Regions from separate parts of the Homo sapiens genome. Here regions 1, 2 and 3 are each linked to region 4. Evidence: promoter capture Hi-C in 16 types of primary human blood cells and fetal thymus (Javierre and others, 2016). All regions are on one chromosome and are shown on one strand. Each heading gives the region's core, a stretch centred on a gene start or on the middle of the fragment in contact. The rest is flanking DNA. Distances are from core to core; before and after follow the strand shown.

What was found. The method cuts DNA at HindIII sites, captures the fragments that hold promoters and counts their contacts. A CHiCAGO score of 5 or more calls a contact.
Region 1: a contact is called between the fragment with the promoter of LRRC14B here and the fragment with the promoter of BRD9 in region 4, in 2 of 17 cell types (total B cells and naive B cells). The highest score is 6.3, in total B cells.
Region 2: a contact is called between a fragment that was not itself captured here and the fragment with the promoter of BRD9 in region 4, in 3 of 17 cell types (fetal thymus, naive CD4 T cells and naive B cells). The highest score is 6.8, in fetal thymus.
Region 3: a contact is called between a fragment that was not itself captured here and the fragment with the promoter of BRD9 in region 4, in 1 of 17 cell types (total B cells). The highest score is 7.1, in total B cells.

The regions. Positions count from the first base shown.
Region 1 is chr5:188,940-192,754 of GRCh38, forward strand. It overlaps LRRC14B (leucine rich repeat containing 14B), which reads left to right and starts at 2,556. Exons shown (of 2, transcript NM_001080478.3): 1 at 2,556-3,498. The coding sequence starts at 2,600. LOC124900929 (a long non-coding RNA gene) reads right to left here. Exons shown (of 2, transcript XR_007058670.1): 2 at 3,789-3,815. It overlaps PLEKHG4B (pleckstrin homology and RhoGEF domain containing G4B), which reads left to right. Exons shown (of 20, transcript NM_052909.5): 20 at 1-1,027. RefSeq lists enhancers at 16-155, 2,221-2,270. The HindIII fragment of the contact is 5,007 bases long and covers 1,353-3,815 here.
Region 2 is chr5:1,648,422-1,652,672 of GRCh38, forward strand. No RefSeq gene overlaps it. Among named protein-coding and RNA genes, the nearest start is that of MIR4277, 58 kb to the right of the region's middle. The HindIII fragment of the contact is 4,657 bases long and covers 381-4,251 here.
Region 3 is chr5:1,667,386-1,671,677 of GRCh38, forward strand. No RefSeq gene overlaps it. Among named protein-coding and RNA genes, the nearest start is that of MIR4277, 39 kb to the right of the region's middle. The HindIII fragment of the contact is 274 bases long and covers 2,752-3,025 here.
Region 4 is chr5:889,923-894,249 of GRCh38, forward strand. It overlaps BRD9 (bromodomain containing 9), which reads right to left and starts at 2,879. Exons shown (of 16, transcript NM_023924.5): 1 at 2,684-2,879; 2 at 1,718-1,932; 3 at 1,233-1,365. The coding sequence starts at 2,735. It overlaps TRIP13 (thyroid hormone receptor interactor 13), which reads left to right and starts at 2,962. Exons shown (of 13, transcript NM_004237.4): 1 at 2,962-3,168. The coding sequence starts at 3,077. RefSeq lists silencers at 2,220-2,438, 2,629-3,248 and an enhancer at 2,248-2,880. The HindIII fragment of the contact is 13,625 bases long and covers 1-4,327 here.

The DNA.
Region 1 (3,815 bases), core at 1,306-3,805, 700 kb before region 4:
CGTGCGACGTGAGTAACAGCAGTTTTTCTTCTGACAGCTGGGATGGAGGTGGGTCCTCCAGGGAGTGCCCCAGTCCTCGAGAGCCAGACTTGTGCACGGGCCTGGAAATGAAGGTCTCAGGCAGGGGCTGCGCACACCGATGGTCAGCATTGCCGTTCGGGGCCTGCAGTCGCCCATAATGGGCCCTGCCCCCTAGGCCTGGCCTCTTTTGCTTTCCTCCTGGATGGTTCCTCTACCCCTGGTCCAGCAGGGACTCAGCAGTGCCTGCCAGCTGCAGACCCCCATGCTCCTGCAGCCTGGAACCCTCCTGCCCTCCAAAGGTCATGGGGTGACCCAGGGTGGGAACACCAGACCCCCTCACCCCGTGTCCACCGCCCATGGCCGGGCTCACAGTGTCTCAGAGCCGTGGTGAGCCATCCTAGGACCAGTGTACCTCACAACCTTTCAGACCAGTGAAGGCCAGTGGGCTGGGTGGTCCAGGCATGTCCCCAACGCAGGTCCAGCCATCTCTGCACAGAACTGGAATCTCGGTTCATTTCGGTTTCAGCAGGTCCCATGTAGTTAGCAGGACAGCACTTGAGTTAGGTCTGAGAAAGAACGCCTGTTTGTCATGGCATTTCCTGTAAGGAGCCCAGAGCCGTGGCCCCAGGTTGGGACGGCGGCGCCAGAGCTGGGCCTGAGTCTGACCCAACCTGTGCTGAGTGGTCCTGCTGGAATGGGAACCCCAAGAGGACCACCCCTCTCTAAAAGAAGGGAAAACAGTAAGCGAGAGGGAGGCTGCAGGGGCCCAGACCTTGGCTGACCTTCCTAGCCATGGTCTCCACCCTCCGAGACCCAGGGGCCCCGCAGTGACAGCAGGGTGTTGGGCCACACAGAGCCCGAGTAGGTAAAGGAAGGTTCTGGAAACCACTTTTCAGAACCCAAAAGGTGTCTGGGAAATGGCGTTACCTGCCACTGTTGTTAAGTGTTTACTTTGTATCAATACTGAATTGTTAAAAATTTTAATCATAAAAACCAATGGAACATGTTTTTCTACTGTGTCCTTCGAGATTCTCTTATCTGGTCCTGGAAAGGGGCCGTGTGTCTGGGGAAACCTCTTGTGCACCTCATGAGGGGAGCCCGGGGGCCCACATCGGCTGGCCGAGGGCGGCCACCCCTGAAGGGTGGGGTCAGGGCCCACCCACCTCTTCACACACACCTCCGCCTGCTGGACAGTGCCTGGGCCCCACAACGGAGCACAGTCCCTTCTGCATGGGTCGCCTCCCGGGGAGAGGCATTGCTCAGGCTCAGGGAACAAACTGGGGAGGGTCAGACAGGGAGGCTGGTGGGGCACCCATGACCAGCACCCTCCAAGCTTGCTCAGCAGCCTTCCCCCTCCCACTGCTGTTTCTCTTTCTGTCTCCCCGTCTGTCTGTCTTTCTCAGTCTCTGTCTCTGCCTACCAGTCTCTCTCTCTCTCTCTTAGTCTCTGTCTCTCCCTTTCTGTCTCTCTCTCAGTCTGTCTCTTTCTGTTTCCCTTTCTCTCTCCCTCAGTCTCTGTCTCTCTCCCTCTTAGTTTCTGTCCCTCTGTCTCTGTCTCAGTCTCCGTCACTCACTTCTCTCAGTCTCCCTCAGCCTCTGTCTCATGGCCGTGACCCTCCAAAGCCCATGGACACGTGGTGCCCTGTAGTGATGTGTGCAGTGATGTGTGCAGCGATGTGTGCTGACCCTGCCCTGAGTGGCAGTGTCACGGGGAGAGGTGAGTGCAGCACCCATCAGCTGTCCAACACGGTCAGTGCTGGGAGTGAACCATCAGGCACCGCCCCCCAACACAGGTGTATCCCATTCCCTGCAGCTTTCCCTGCCGCACAGGCGGCAGGGTTGCAGACAGGACACTGCAGCTCAGAGAGAGCTGGGGGCTCATCCGAGGCCATCAGGGAGGCTCCACCTCTCCCAGCCACTCTCTCCCATGGAAAGTAGGGAAGCCACCCCCGCCGGGTCCTTGGGGAGAAGGAAAGGCACAGGGAAGGGGCAAAACAGCAGCTCCATTCCTGGCCACTCGTCTCACCCCAGATGCGAGGCGAAGTGTGGGAGCGGCCCCAGAGGCCACTGTGGAAAGGGAACTGGTTACCGAGTGAGGCGCAGGGGCCTGGCCTGTTCTCTGCCCCGTTGACTGGTGGGGGAGGTGCCCAGAGCTGGGCAGTAGCCCCGCTTGGATGGTAAACAGGACCTGCCCGCTGGCCTCACCGGCCGCCAGCACGAACGCCTGCCAAGACTGGCTTTCTGCAGCATGGAGCACAGGCTTCTCTGCCCAGCCCTGCCATGGGCACGGGCTGCCTTTCTGTGTCGGCTGGGTGCCTGAGCCAAGCAGCTCCCAACGGCTGGGTGCCTGAGCCAAGCAGCTCCCAACGGCTGGGTGCCTGAGCCAAGCAGCTCCCAACGGCTGCGTGCCCCGAGGCCGGGCAGACGCAGGTGTCCCAGGACCAAAATAGCAGTCAGATGATCATAAGGCCCCGTGGCAGGGCCCCCAGGGCAGGCTGCTCACAGCTGCTGCAGCTAAAGATAGGCGTGAAGGGCACACGCCTTGGGGAAAGTCGTGGGGAGCGGTCCTGTCTCGGGCCATGGACACAATGAGGTCACTCCGCTTCATTTCTGCAGAAGCTCTGGTGTCCCACCCCCAGGTGGCCCGGCAGAGCCTGGACAGCGTGGCCCACAACCTCTACCCACTCCTGTTCAAAGCCAGCTACCTGCTGGAGCAGGCGGAGGTGACGCGCGCGGTGCTGGGGCGCTGGCCCCTGGAGGAGTTCCGGCTGGGAGCGCTGCTGGGTCCTGGTGCCGACCACCCCCAGGACCTGCGCGACAGAACCTGCAGGGCCTGCCTGGAGGCGCTGGTGCGCGGCCTCGCGGACCACGTGCTGCAGGACCGGAGCCGCCGGCGGCTGCGGGTGGCTGACCTCACGGGCATCCGAGATGTGCAGGTGCAGCGGTGCCCGTGCGGGAGGGCGCTGGGCAGGTGGGGCCGCACCCAGCTGCTGGCCAGGACCTGCTGTGAGCTGCAGGCAGAGCCCCTCGCAGCCGGGCGCCCCGTCGAGGTCCTCGCCGACCTCTTCGTCACTGAGGGCAACTTCGAGGCGGTGGTGCAGGCTCTGAGGCCAGCGGGCCCGGCCCCTCTGCGGGTGCACTGCCCCTCGTTCCGGGCGGACAGCCTGAGCCCCAGCCAGCTCCTGCACGTGCTGCGTCTGGCTGGCCCGGGTGCCCTGCGCAAGCTGGAGGTGGTGCACAACGTGCGGCTGCATGCGGGCCACGTGCAGCAGCTTCTGGCCCAGGTGGGCTTCCCCCGGCTGGCCTCGCTCACCCTGCCCACCAAGGCCTTTGATGCACCCCCCACCTACGCCTCCACTCCCGACGGCGAGGACCCCCTCCTCGCCTCCATCGCCCGGGAGCTCAGCAAGATGGCGCAGCTCACTGAGCTCAGTGTGGCCTTCTCCACGCTGACCGGGAAGATCCCGACGCTGCTTGGGTGAGTCTTGGGGAGGGGACTGAGGGCGGGCTGGTGGCTGCAGAGGCAAGGAGAGATCGTCCAGGGGCCTGCTCATGTCCAAGGCCATGAGGCTACACGGCCTCCAGCCTCTCACTCCGGGTGTGGCCACAGCCACAGGACAGCGGCCCCGCCAAGGGGCAAGAGCACCGAAAGTCAGAGCCACCAGGAAAGAAGCGGGCTGCCATGTGTGACTTAGGGATGTGGAGAGAATGCCAGTTAAAAAAAGAGAATACGGAAATTACCAAACAGACGAAACAGAAGTGCCTACGTGGTGTGAGGAGTTGTCTATTGTTGAT
Region 2 (4,251 bases), core at 1,459-3,958, 760 kb after region 4:
GTGGTCCTGAGACGTGGCTTTGAAAAACACTGCTTGGGCTGGGTGCAGTGGCTCATGCCTGTAATCCCAGCACTTTGGGAGGCCAAGGTGGGAGGACTACCTGAGGTCAGGAGTTCAAGACCAGGCTGGTCAACATGGTGGAACCCTGTCTCTACTAAAAATACAAAAATTAGCTGGGCGTTGTGGTGCATGCCTGTAATCCCAGCTACTTGGGAGGCTGAGGCAGGAGTATCGCTTGAACCCAGGAGGCAAAGGTTGCAGTGAGCCAGGATTACACCACTGCACTCCAGCCTGGGCAACAGAGTGAGACTCCATCTCAAAAAAAAAGGAAAGAAAAAGAGAAACACTGCTTGAAACAAGAAAGGAACACAAAGATTAAAAGCTTAGAATTTTCCATAAACCTTTTGGCCACTTATATGTCTTCTGTTGAGAAATGATCTTTTGTCTACTTTCTATGGGATTATTTATTTATCTATTTTTTTCTGTTGTTTGATTTCCTTGTGTATTCTGGATATTGGCCCCAAAAAGCAAGCGAAAAAATGCTCAACATCATGAATCATTGGGGAAATGCACATCAAAACCACAATGAGGTATCATCTACCCCAGTTCAGATGGCTTTAATTAAAAACAAAAACCATAACAAATGCTGGCGAGGATGTGGAGAAAGGGGAACCATACACACTGTAGGTGGGAATGTAAATGAGTACAGCCGCTATGGACAACAGGATTGAGTTCTTAAAAAATTAAAAATAGAGCTACCCTATGATCCAGCCATCCCCGCTGATGGGTATTTATCCAAAGGAAAGGGAATCCTGTGTGAAAGGGAATCTGGGCCCCCCTGTTTACTGCAGCACTGTTCACAATGGCAAAGATATGGAATCAACCTAGGTGCCTATCAATGGATGAATGGATACAGAACACGTGATATCTATTCGCGATGGAATACTCTGCAGCCATACACAAGAATGAAATCATGTCGTCTGCAACAACATGGATGGAATTGAAGGCTGTCATGTTAAGGGAAGTAAGCCGGGGTAGAAAGACAAATGTACCATGTTCTCACTCATTTGTGGGCACTGAAAGAGTGGCTCTCACAGAGGCAGAGAGTTGGCTGGTGGTTCCCAGAGGCTGGGCAGGGTGTGTGGGTGAGAGGCAGACAGAAAGTGAGGCTGGTTACGGGGCACAAACATGCAGTCAGGGGAAGGAGTAAGTTCCAATGTTCCATAGAACAGTTCACAGACCAAAGGCAACAATCATTTACTGTTTCCTTCCTTCCTTTCTTCCTTCCTTCCTTCCTTCCCTTCCTCCCTCCCTTCTTTCTTTCTCTCTCTCTCTTTCTCTCTTTCTTTTCCTTCTTTCTCTTTCTTTCTCTCTTTCTCTCTCTCTCTCTCTTTCTTTTTCTTTCTCTCTCTCTCTCTTTCTCTCTTTCTTACTTTCTTTATTTCTTTTTGACAGAGTCTCACTCCAGGCTGGAGTGCAGTGGAGGCATGATCTCGGCTCACTGCAACCTCCGCCTCCTGGGTTCAAACGATTCTCCTGTCAGCCTCCCGAGTAGCTGGGATTACAGGTGTGTGCCACCATGCCTGGCTAATTTTTGTGTTTTCAGTAGAGACAGGGTTTTGCCATGTTGGCCAGGCTGGTCTCGAACTCCTGACCTCAGGTGATCCACCTGCCTTGGCCTCCTAAAGCGCTGGGATTACAGGTGTGAGCCACTGCACCTGGTCCGCTGTATATTTCAAAATAGCTAGAAGAACTGGAATCTTCCCAACAGAAAGAAAGAGTAGATGTTCCAAGTGATGGATATACTACATACCCTGATTTGATCACTACATGCTGTGTGCACAATCAAAATATCACAACTGCCCTGTAAATATGTACAATTATTATGTATCAATAAACACTTTTCAAAAAATTTTAGATTTGATTACAAAGACATTAAACCCTGTGACACTTCAAAAAACACCATAACAAAACAAACAAAATCCAACAAAAACCGGAAGCACGCTGTGACGGTTTTGACATCTGATGTCCTCAGTGTCTAGAGGTCTTACGGGAAGAAGGAAGGCGCAATCGAATGAAGTTAGATGTGGAAATAGAATCACAACAACCCAGGAAGATGCAATTTGAGTTTTAACGATGAATTTAGCAATTTGCTTAAAAATAGTAATAGTCAATGTTGGCAAATATTCAGAGGAATATGCGTTTTCAGATACTAGTAGCAAAAGTATCAGCATAATTTTGTTCTGGAGAGGGGTTTGGTAATATGCACCAGAAGCCTTCCAATGTGGCTGACCTAGCAATGCTGCCTTTAGGGTGATAAACTGGCAAGTGGTCAAAATCCGCTCTGTGGCCTGTTGCTGCACGGCCAAGAGCTCGGAATGGTCCGTTACTGTGAAAACGATTAGCGAATAAGGAAGAGTGTGCGGTGGAGACCATCTTCCCCGTCCCCGCCCCCAGCACAATACTGACTCTCTAGCTGTCTGCAGAGCACGTTTGCAGACCCCTGATCTATGTGGAGGAGTAAACAAGTAAACAACAAAACGGTCCAGGTGTTCATTTTGCAGCATTTAGAAAATGTTGGTAAAAATAAAATAAAGAAATAAAGGGCCTAAATGTCCGTCTTTCCAACCTCATGGAAGTAGTTCAATCGATTCTGGCAAATGCAAATCCTGTCGTGTTCGGCAGCCGCTACAGGTAGACAGTGCTGCTGAAGAACTTCCAGTAACATGAGAAAACACTCATGAGAGGGTCGTGCTAAGTGAGAGCATTAAGTTATACAGACGACTTTATTCCAATTTTAATTTGAAGGTGTGTAAATAGAAAGAAATGGAAAGAAAGAAAATACTTGAACATCTTAATTACTGGGTGTTCATCCCGGGTGTGGGGAAGCAGGGGCTTCGGGTGAGGGTGGTGGGGGGTATGAGGAGTTTGGAGGTGGGTGGGAGGGGATCCCTAAAGTGACAGAGTCCTGGGAGCCCAGGGCTTGGAAGCTCACCACCTGGCAGTGCAGCCATGGGATCCAGACAGCTTCGCTGGACAGACGCACCGTGAGGGCTGGGGTGGGTCCTGGGGAGGGCAGGGCCAGAAAAGGGTGGGGCTGGGGAGAGTGGGGTCAGGGGAGGGCGGGGCTGGGGAGGGATGAGGCCTGGGGAGGGGTGAGGCCTGGGGAGGGTAGGGCCTGGGAAGAGTGGGGGATGGGGAGGGGTGAGGCCTGGGGAGGGTAGGGCCTGGGAAGAGTGGGGGATGGGGAGGGGTGAGGCCTGGGGAAGGTGGGGCTGGAAGAAGGTAGGGCTGGGGAGGGGTGGGGCTGGGGGAGGGATGAGGCCTGGGGAGGGGTGAGGCCTGGGGAAGGTGGGGCTGGGGAGGGGGGGGCCACAGAGGGCAGGGCAGGGGTAGGGCAAGGCTGGGGAGGGATGATGCCTGGGGAGGGGTGGCCTGGAGATGTCAGGGCTGGGGAGGGTAAGGCTGGGGAGGGATGAGGTCTGGGGAGGGGTGGGGCTGGGGGAGGACCGGCCTGTGGGGCAGGGCCTATGGGGGCATGGGGCCTGGGTCCTCGGGGCCTGGGACAGTGTCACTCTTCCCTTCCTTGGCTCATCCTGTGACCCGAAGAGCCTCTGCCAGGCCCTGGGCTCCTGCTGAGCTCCTGCTGAGAACAAGGCAGCCTGGTTTTTCTTTGATCTCCTGCCCCGAAGGTTGATGAGGGGATGGAGGGTCTGGAGCAATGGCCCAGACAGGGTGGAAGTTCCCTGGGGAAGAAGGGGGTGCCTGGAGTGGGTGGGTGGTCAGGGACCTTTCGAGAGGAGGGGTCTCAAGGTGAGGGCTCCTCAGGCCCCCGAATGTGGGGCAGGGTGGGTGCACAAGCAGAGGCTGTGGGGGAGGTGCTGGGCAAGGGAAGGGCAGGGCCCATTCTTAGGAGGAGCCTGAGAGTGGGACAAGAACAGATAAATTCTCAGGGAGAATGGGGTCCCTCGCCATGGGGGGTCCTGGAACAATCCATGGCGGCCTGTCCCTCTGCCTGCTCCCACCACAGTTCCGTGCTTCTCCAGAGGGCCAGGCTGGCCATGCTGTCCCTAACCCACTCCAGGGACCACATGAGTGTAACAGGATGTAGGAGAGAGCCAGGGCTTGGAAATCCATGATCTGGCCGTGTGGCCATGGGATCTGGCCAGCCTCGCAGGATGCTGTGAGGTGGGGCGAGGGCCGGGTGCAGGGAGGATGCTGTGGGTCTCCCAGGTGCCCTGTGCAGGACAG
Region 3 (4,292 bases), core at 1,639-4,138, 780 kb after region 4:
CCGAGCGGTGGCGCCGTTGCCCTGGGAACCGGGGACTGCAGCCGCGGACTTCGGGGTCTCGGCTCCGGCCCCTGCAGGACCGCGGGCGCCGCCGGGGAAGCGAGGCCTTTGGGTCTGAGGGTCCGAGCGGCTCCCGGAGGTGCGGGCGGAGATAGGAGACCCCCCCCGAGCCTGGGGGGGGCGCAGGAAGGGGGCGCGCGGGGCGGGGGCGCGCAGGAAGGGGGCGCGCGGGGCGGGGGCGCGCGTTCTCCCTCCGGGCAGCCTCGTGGGCGGTAGATGCAGCCAACGCGTCCGTCAAAGCGGTTCAGGGGCGCTGGGAAGAGGCGGCGGTGACCCCGGGACGGCAGTGGGCCCGACCGAGCCTCAGTGGGGGTCCCGCGTGTACGCTGGCCTCGCCCTCCCGCCTCGCTTCTGGGCTTTTGCTCCAACTCTCAGCCGCCGTGGAGATCGCAGGGGGCGTAGGGCCAAGCCAGGGATTCCGCTGTGCCCCGGGCTCGGGAGAGGTGTCCCGGGAGTCTATGGCAGAATTTCCCCCTCATCCTGCGCTGGGAGAGGGGTCTCGCCCCGGATGGAACTCCGCGTTCCCACCTCCAGGTTCTCCCCTGACCTCCACTTCTGTACCCTGGACAGGCGGGTATTCTCCCCGGCCCTGGAGGCTCCTGTCCCCCAGCATTTGCGCGGCCAGGCCTGGCGCTGGGCTCCCCACCCCCAGCCCTCAAGGGCACGAGCTTGCAGAGAAATCTCTGGGTTTGGAGGCCTGAAGTCCCCCTTGGGGCCTGGGTTCCCTTTTGCCCTGTCTGCAGGGCGCTCTGCAGGTTTCTCGCGGCCGTGGGTGATCCGGGGGGTTGTGGCCCAGCCTGGGGTTGTGGTGAAAATGGGCTTTTCAGTAGGGGTTGGGGCAGTGCCTGGAATAACCCGCAGTGCTCACATCTGCCTGCGGGGACCTTCTGCAGTCTTTCTGGCCACCCTGGGGGCGAGGGCAGGACAGGGCTAGGTGTGTCCTCCCCAGCCTGGCCTCTGCCTACCTTGCAGGTGCAGTGAGCTCTCCTGCCTGAGAGAGAGCAGGTGTGCAGGGAGGCGTGGGGGCTGGCAGGTGTGGGGGCTGCGTGCTGCGGCTGTGTTGGGGGAGGGGGTGAGAGTGTGACTCACGGAGCCCCGCCCGCAGGAGAGGGTGGCCTTGACAGGGAAGAGAGTGTGGGGGTGTCTAGCCAGTGAAGACAGCAGAGCGGCAACAAGCTCCGAAAGCTGGAAGGTCGCTGTTGGCCTCGGGAGAGGAGGGCCAGCGCTGGGGACCGTGGGACACAGGAATCCCGCAGCGTGTTCTGCGGGTTAGAGCTGTGTGCAGAGACCCAAGCTTGTCGAGGGCAGTGAGCAGCTGTGGAGGAAATGTCGAGGCTCCCACGTCCCCACCAGTGTCCCCAGCTCCACGTTGAACCCCTCTCTATGATGAGGTGTCTTCCTGGATGGGTGCTGTGGGCATTGTGAAAGGAAAATAAGTCTGGGGTCCCCACATCACTAAGCTAAAGGGAAGAGTCAAGTTGGGAACTGCTTAGAGCAAACCTGCCTCCCTTTCTATTCAAAGTCTCCCCCTGCTCACTGAGATGAATGCAGATCTGATTGCCTCCTTTGGAGAGGCTCATCACAAGCTCAAAAGAACGCAGCCATCTGTCTCTTACCTACCTTTGACCTGGAAGCCCTTCCTCGAGTTGTCCCGCCTTTGCTTTGAATTGTCCCACGTTTCCAGACCAAACCAATGTTCATCTTACACATGCTGATTGATGTCCCATATCTCCCTAAAATATATAAAACCAAGCTGTGCTCTGACCACCTTGGGTACATGTCGGCAGGACCTCCTGAGGCTGTCACAGCTGCGCAGCCTCAACCTTGGCAAAATAAACTTTCTAAATTGAGACCTGTCTCAGAATTTTGGGGTTCACAGCATGCAGCCAGCAGACCTGGTGATGAAGGAGGCTAAGATCTGGCCACATGAATCTGAGGCTCATGTGTATCTGAGGCATGATGAGCCAGCAGGGTGGGGACAGGGTTTGTGCAAGAGAGCTGGGACCCTGAACTTGTGGGCTTGTGTGAGTGCCAGAGCTGGGGGCATGGTGAACCATGCATCCTGGGTATGTGGCAGTAGGGCAGTGACTTCCCTGGCCCTCTACGCCTCTGTAGGGCCTCAGCTATCTGGTAAGGGCTGTGTCTAAGACAGACCCCTGACCATGGTCCTGCCCAGCCTGTTCCCGTGGACCCTGCCAGCATCAGGATTTCTTGGCTGCCTAGTCAAGTGCCATACCTCTCAGAGGAGAGGACAGGGAGGGGCCTGGGGTCTACAGAAGGAGGCTTCAGCTAAAAAGAAGACTTGTGCCACAGAGAACGGCACGGCAAAGAAAGCCGGGGGCACCAAGCTCTGAGGACGCACATCTGCAGAAGCCCAGCAGCTGCACACCGGCTCCCTCCAGCCCTTTCCACAGCACACAGAGAGCCGGGGGTTCCCAGGCCTGGAAACAGGACAGAGTGTGGACCCCCTTTCCTCAGGCCAGGGTTTGCCTTGTCACGTCCATTGTGTAAAGCTGAGGATAAGGGTGAAGGGTAAGGGCTGAGTACTGTGGAGGCCCTGTCCATCAGCACTCTCAGCTTGAGGAAGGTGATGAGCAGGGCCCACCCCCCATTCACCCCTAAACCCCACTTGTCTACCTTGGACCTGGACGAGCAAAGCTGGCTCAGGCACAGGACTCCCTGGGTGTTTGAAGCTTTCCACCCTCAAGCAGGGGCTGTGAGCATTGCAGGCTTGCCAAGCACAGATGTGCACTGCACGGAGTGGGAAGGAGACAGTGTATAGAAATCTTCAGCCAGATTCTGTTCATCGCAATATAAAGATGGCCTTGTGCTCAGGACACATAAGTCACAGGGAAAGTTCAAAAGCTGAGAATGTAGGTGTCTACTTTGGAATTCTATTATCTTAGGTAATATCTAAAAGCAAGACAAATGCTTACAGCAGGCTAGCAGCATGAAAGAAAAGTGAAGCTTCTTAAGGAGAGTTGGGATGATGACATACTGTGGTCAATTTTTAATGCTCTTACAAAGGAAAAGAAGCACAGACAATAAATAGTGCCAAATGCAGTTAGTCACACACGTGTGTGGCTCCCACATGCACATGCACTCACCCCATCAGCTGACCTGCCCACCATCCTGGGAGTCTAGTCTGCAGCTGAAGGCTCATTTGCAAGAGGAAGAGGTTCTGGTGATGGTGACTCAGCTACTTACAGAAAAGTCTTGATCACACATTGAGACATTCATGACACGTTTCCATATTTCCAAATCCATTGTCATCAGGTACATAATTAATTGTAACATTGCTAACTCTGGAAGAAGAAGGAGTTTCCATAATTTATTCATAAGACGAAGTCACCTGTTTGAAGAGCCTTGAGATACTCCATTGAGGGGCTCTCTTTTAAGCATCACTTCTCCTTCCCAAATGTTGGAGGACAAAAGAACTTTCCTTTCCAAATTTGGAAACAGTAGAACTTAATCCTACCTGAATGTGTTCTCCCTTCCTGGGACCAGTGAAAGTACCCAGGTAGAAGCAATAAAGGTTTTCTGGGAAAAGTAGACCCCTTCTGATTCCTGATTCCTGAGAGATGGAAGGCGGGTGGGAATGTGGGTATCATGGGGTGGATAATCGGCTCTTCTGCAACCTTTTGGGACTCCTCCTTGGGCCAGGTTTGGCTCATACATCAGCCCTGTAAGGGGGCCAAGAGAGAATTCTGTGTTTGGCGTGCAGAGATAGAGATGAGGGTGTTTCATCGCCATTGTTCAGTGAATTGCCCAAGCATGGACTGCGTGGTTAGGAAAGATAGAGAAGCTTTGTATTCCTCTGTGACATTGACCAGTAATGTCATAAACCTGAGCTGGAAGAGTTTTCTTGATTTCATGCTTGAGGTACCAGGCACAGCATCTGGCCGCAGCACCAGAAGCACCAGCTCCTGCCCAAACAGGCTCAAGGCCTCATAGGTTGAAGTTGGAGGGCATTTCTGTTTTCATGAGCCAGCCATATGCTGGAGAAACTTAGGGTGGCTGATGGATTTCATTCATGGCGCTTCTCTTAAAGTGATCGCTTGAAAACGGATGGTGCTGTGTCCATGGGAGGCACCCCAGGCCTCCCAAGTGCTGTTGCAGAGCAACTCCCAGAGTCTCGGGCGAGGGGCGTGGCTGCCCTGTGACGGTGGCATCAATCCCCATGTTAAAGCATTAAAAAGGACTCGTACGTATTATCGCCACTAAAAAAACTT
Region 4 (4,327 bases), core at 1,629-4,128:
CTCATACCACTACTCTAGACAAGAAATGGACGACGGAACAAACGCTCTGGACATAAAGGTTGATCCTGAATTCACCGATTATTATTTCACTTGAGGTCCCTTAAAATTCAACAAAAAGTAAATAAATGGCCGGCGTGGTGGTGCGTGCCTGTAGTCCCAGCAACTTGGGAGGCTGAGGTGGGAGGATCGCTTGAGCCCAGGGTTATCTGAGCCCAGGAGTGAATCACGACACTGCACTCCAGCCTAGGCGACACAGCAAGACCATGTTTCAAAAATAAATTAAAAAAAGAAAGTGCCTGAAGAGCCAAATGACCACAGGAGCTCAGAAGGCCACCAGCTTTCCAGAACTTTCCTTCAGTGGAGCCAGCAGGCCTCAGACAGTTTCTGACGGCCTGAATGATCGCAGCACTAGCCTCCCCACTCCCTGATGTCCCATGTCCCAAAGCCCAGCCGTCTGTTTCCCTATAATCCAGGAACCACTGGATGCTGAGAGTTGCTGGGAAGAGACACCCCTTGTCTTAGGTACAAATGCCTCATCACTGTGAGTTGTGCACAGGAAGGCTGGGGACAAAGAGAACTCAGAGGGCAAGTCCTTGTCAACTGGAAATTCCAGCCAAATGCCATCCTTCGCAGATGGTGCCCACGACAGAGATTCTACTAAAGGCCTCCAGCTTCCTTTGTCTCAGCCTATGGTCACTTTCAGCAACTTCAGACCCACCATTTGGGCCTCGAGGTCCCTTCTTCCCAAGGGGAATTACCTGCGTTTTCACTGACATGCATCTCTCTTACCAGTCTGACCCAGATGGGGCTACTGTTCCAATACTGTCTTAAGTGCAAACAAAACCAAACTTCAAGACCCAGGGCTGGCAAACTTTTTACATAAAGGCCAGACAAAAAACAGTCTAGGCTTTGCGGGTCACATACGATTGGTCTCTGTGGAGATGCCTTTTTGTTTCTTTTTATGAACGCTTAAAAAACATATAAGCCATCCTTAGCTAACAAGTTAAAAAACAAAACTGAAGGGCACCAGTGGTAACTGGCCACGCCTTGCTCTAGACATTCAGAGACACCGGAGGAAACCTCAGGCCAGAGGACACCTGGGATGAGGCCCTGGAAATACCAGCTCTCCTCCCTCCCATGCTTCTCCCCAAAGCAACAGGACACGGTGCCGACCCCTCATTTACAACGATGAGCTGTGAACACCAGGAGAGTCTCTAAAAGTGCACCCTTGCCTGGCTGTGTCCGGCACGCTCGGACTGGCCGATCTGGGGGCGGCTCCACCTCCACCTTCTTCCCAGGATCAAAGTCGTCAGCCTCTCCCTCCGTGTCACAGTGCTCCCTCTCTCGCTTCCGCTTCTTCTCTTCCTGGGCGGCAGAGTCAAGGGAGTGAGAAAGGCAGGAGTAGGCGGGATCCGGACAGGTCTGCCCAATCCCCTCGCAGTTCTCAGGGGAGGGACAGAACTAAGGGAAACCCCCTCCGAGATCCTCCTCATGCCAGGCTCCCTCCTCACAGAGACCCTGGCAGGGTCTGCTGAGGAACAGCACACCCAGGATCCTGGAACTGAGTCTGCGGGCCTCAGCGGTTCGCGTTTTGCTACCAACGGAACACCCCCTCCCCTCCTCCAGCCACGCAGGCGCACTCTGCCTGGGTCCTGGGACCAGGCTCCCCACGGGCTCCTCGTGGGCAGCGTCCGGGCCACCGCCGCTGCTCCTTTACCTTTCGCTTCCTTCTTTCCTCATCGTCCAGATGCTTCTCCTTCTCGGACTTCTTCTTCTTCTTCTTTTTCTTTTCTTTGTGCCTCTCTCGCTCATGGTCTGACCTGTCATCATAGTAACTGGAGTCGTGGCCGGATCCTGAGAGTTCAGTCACTTCACTTCCTCCGACCTTCAGGACTAGCTTTAGAGGCTTCTCCAGGGGCTTGTCGGCATAATCTGCACAGACACAGACCGAGTTCTACCCGCGTGCTCAGGTGCAAACGCCACGCAGCCAGGTGAGACGTGAAGGTGCTAAGAGGGAAAGGCCTCCCTAAGGAGTACAGCGGGGCTGCCAACCAGCAGGGAAAGACGGAAGGGAAGACCACAGTGGCGGCATGTCACTGCCTCCTTGTTCTCCCTTCCCCTCCGCAGGGAGCTTCAGGTCCCTTTCGAGCCACGGTGTCCTCACCAGAGGCCCTGTGGGATGTTGTTCACATTACTCGTTCAAGAAGATGGATTAAGAGGGACCTGGAACCCCGGAGCCCGATCTCCCTCCTAGAAACCCCCAGCACTTCGGTTCACCCTCGCCTGACTTCCTGCAGGCGCCCGTGCTGCCCGCTGACACCCATGGAGCTGCTGCGGGAGCAAGGGAGAGGGAGGGAAAGGCGGGAGAAAGGGCAGCCCAGCTTCTCCCTGAGCTCCACACAAAAGCCAGCACAGATGCTTCCCTAGTCTCCAGGACCGGGGTGAGTGGGCTTGCAGCCTCGAACCCAGAACCCTCTACCAGGAACGTAAGCGCCTACCCAGGACCCCTCACGTGTGCCCGGTTCCCTGCCCGAAATCCCAGGACCCCCTCCCGCGTGCCCAGAACCCCTCCCTCGTGGCCAGGACCTCGCCCGGTGCCCAGGACCCCCGTCCGCGTGCCCGGAACTCCTCCCCCGTGCCCGGGACCCCGCCCGCCGCGCGTCACAAAGCGCCGCCGCCTCACCCTCGTAGGACGAGCGCCACTCGGCCTTGTGCTTCTTGTGCTTCTTGCCCATGGCGGCGCCGGCGGCGGGCCCGAGGCGGGGGCTGGGAACAGCTGGCACCCGGTCGGACCTTGGCCGCCACCGCCCCCTGGCCCTGGCTGGCCGCCCGCGCTCGCTGCGCCGAGGTTGCCGAGCTCGCTGGGCCGCGCCGGAAACGGGGCGAGGCGGGGCCGCGGCAGGAAGTGGCCCTGCCGGGCCCGAGCGCTTCCGGGTCAGGAGGTGGTGCGCCTCGCGCGGCAGATTCGAAGCTAGGGCGGGGCCCGCGGGCTGAGGCAGCGGCTGTGGCGGCGACGCTGGGCGTGAGGTGGCGGCGGCCGCGCCCTGGTTGGGTCCCCACTGCTCTCGGGGGCGCCATGGACGAGGCCGTGGGCGACCTGAAGCAGGCGCTTCCCTGTGTGGCCGAGTCGCCAACGGTCCACGTGGAGGTGCATCAGCGCGGCAGCAGGTGAGCCGGACCTGTCCGACACATCCTCTGGGCACCCACCCGCCCCGACCCCAGCGCGTGCACCGAGCCCCGACCCCAGCGCACTGATTCTGATGCGACCGAACCCCAGGGTACTGATCCGGCCCGACTGGACCCGGGCGCACAGGCCGCCGGGCCCCGACCGGATCCTAGCGCAATGACGCGACCCCACCGCAGGGCACTGACCCGGCCGACCCGAGCCCTGCGCGCAGGACCCCAGCTCACAGATTGAGCCCCGACCCGACCTCAGCTCACGGACCTGGCCCTGACCCTGCCCCTGCCCCGGCTGTCCTCCAGTGCATTGATGTGGCCCTGAGTCCCACGTTGGAGAATAGGATGGCTGCGCATTACAGAGAGCTCTAGTCTCAGCCGAAAGCTGGGTGGTTATTCTTTGAGCCACTGCTTCTCAGACCCTTTAATTGTTCCCGTTCCTCACGGACTCGATGTTAAATTTTTAGGGTTCAAAGCACATCCCACTCATTTGTGACCAAGTCAGTTCATGGTATGGTGGGGCCTGTGGGCTGTGCTGCTCCCTGGAGTGGGGGGAACTCAGCGGCGGGGCCAGACCTTCACAGACCCTCCTTATGTCCACGGAGGGTGGATTGAGGTCAGGTGAGACCACCAGCCTCAGAGGGGATGCAGAGGAAGAGACCTTTCCTTTAACAGAATAGCTGTTGACTGGGTATTTTCTAGGTGCTGGAGTTCAGACACGTCAGCATAATTGCACCAGGGCCCAGAGACACCTGCACAAAGCCCCATCACAGCCTGGCGACACCTGTGTAAACACCTTAGCGCTCAGAGACACCTGTACACAGTGCCACCGCAGCCTAGAGACACCCCATGTACAACCACACCTGGGCCCAGAGACGCTAGGCATAATCACACCAGAGCACAGCTGCACCTAGAGGACAGACACCTACGTACAACTGCACCAGAGTTCATAGACACCTGCACACAACCGCACTATGCATGGTGGTCGCTGCTTGTAGGGTGCTGGGACGATTGCAAAGGGGCCACATGTCACCTGCCTGGCTCTGAGGAGCCTGTCCAGGAGGGCTCAGAGGGAGGCAGACATTGAATAGGACTTAGAGGGTGACTGCAGTTGATCAGGCCAGTAAGCTGGGACAGTGCATAGCAGGGC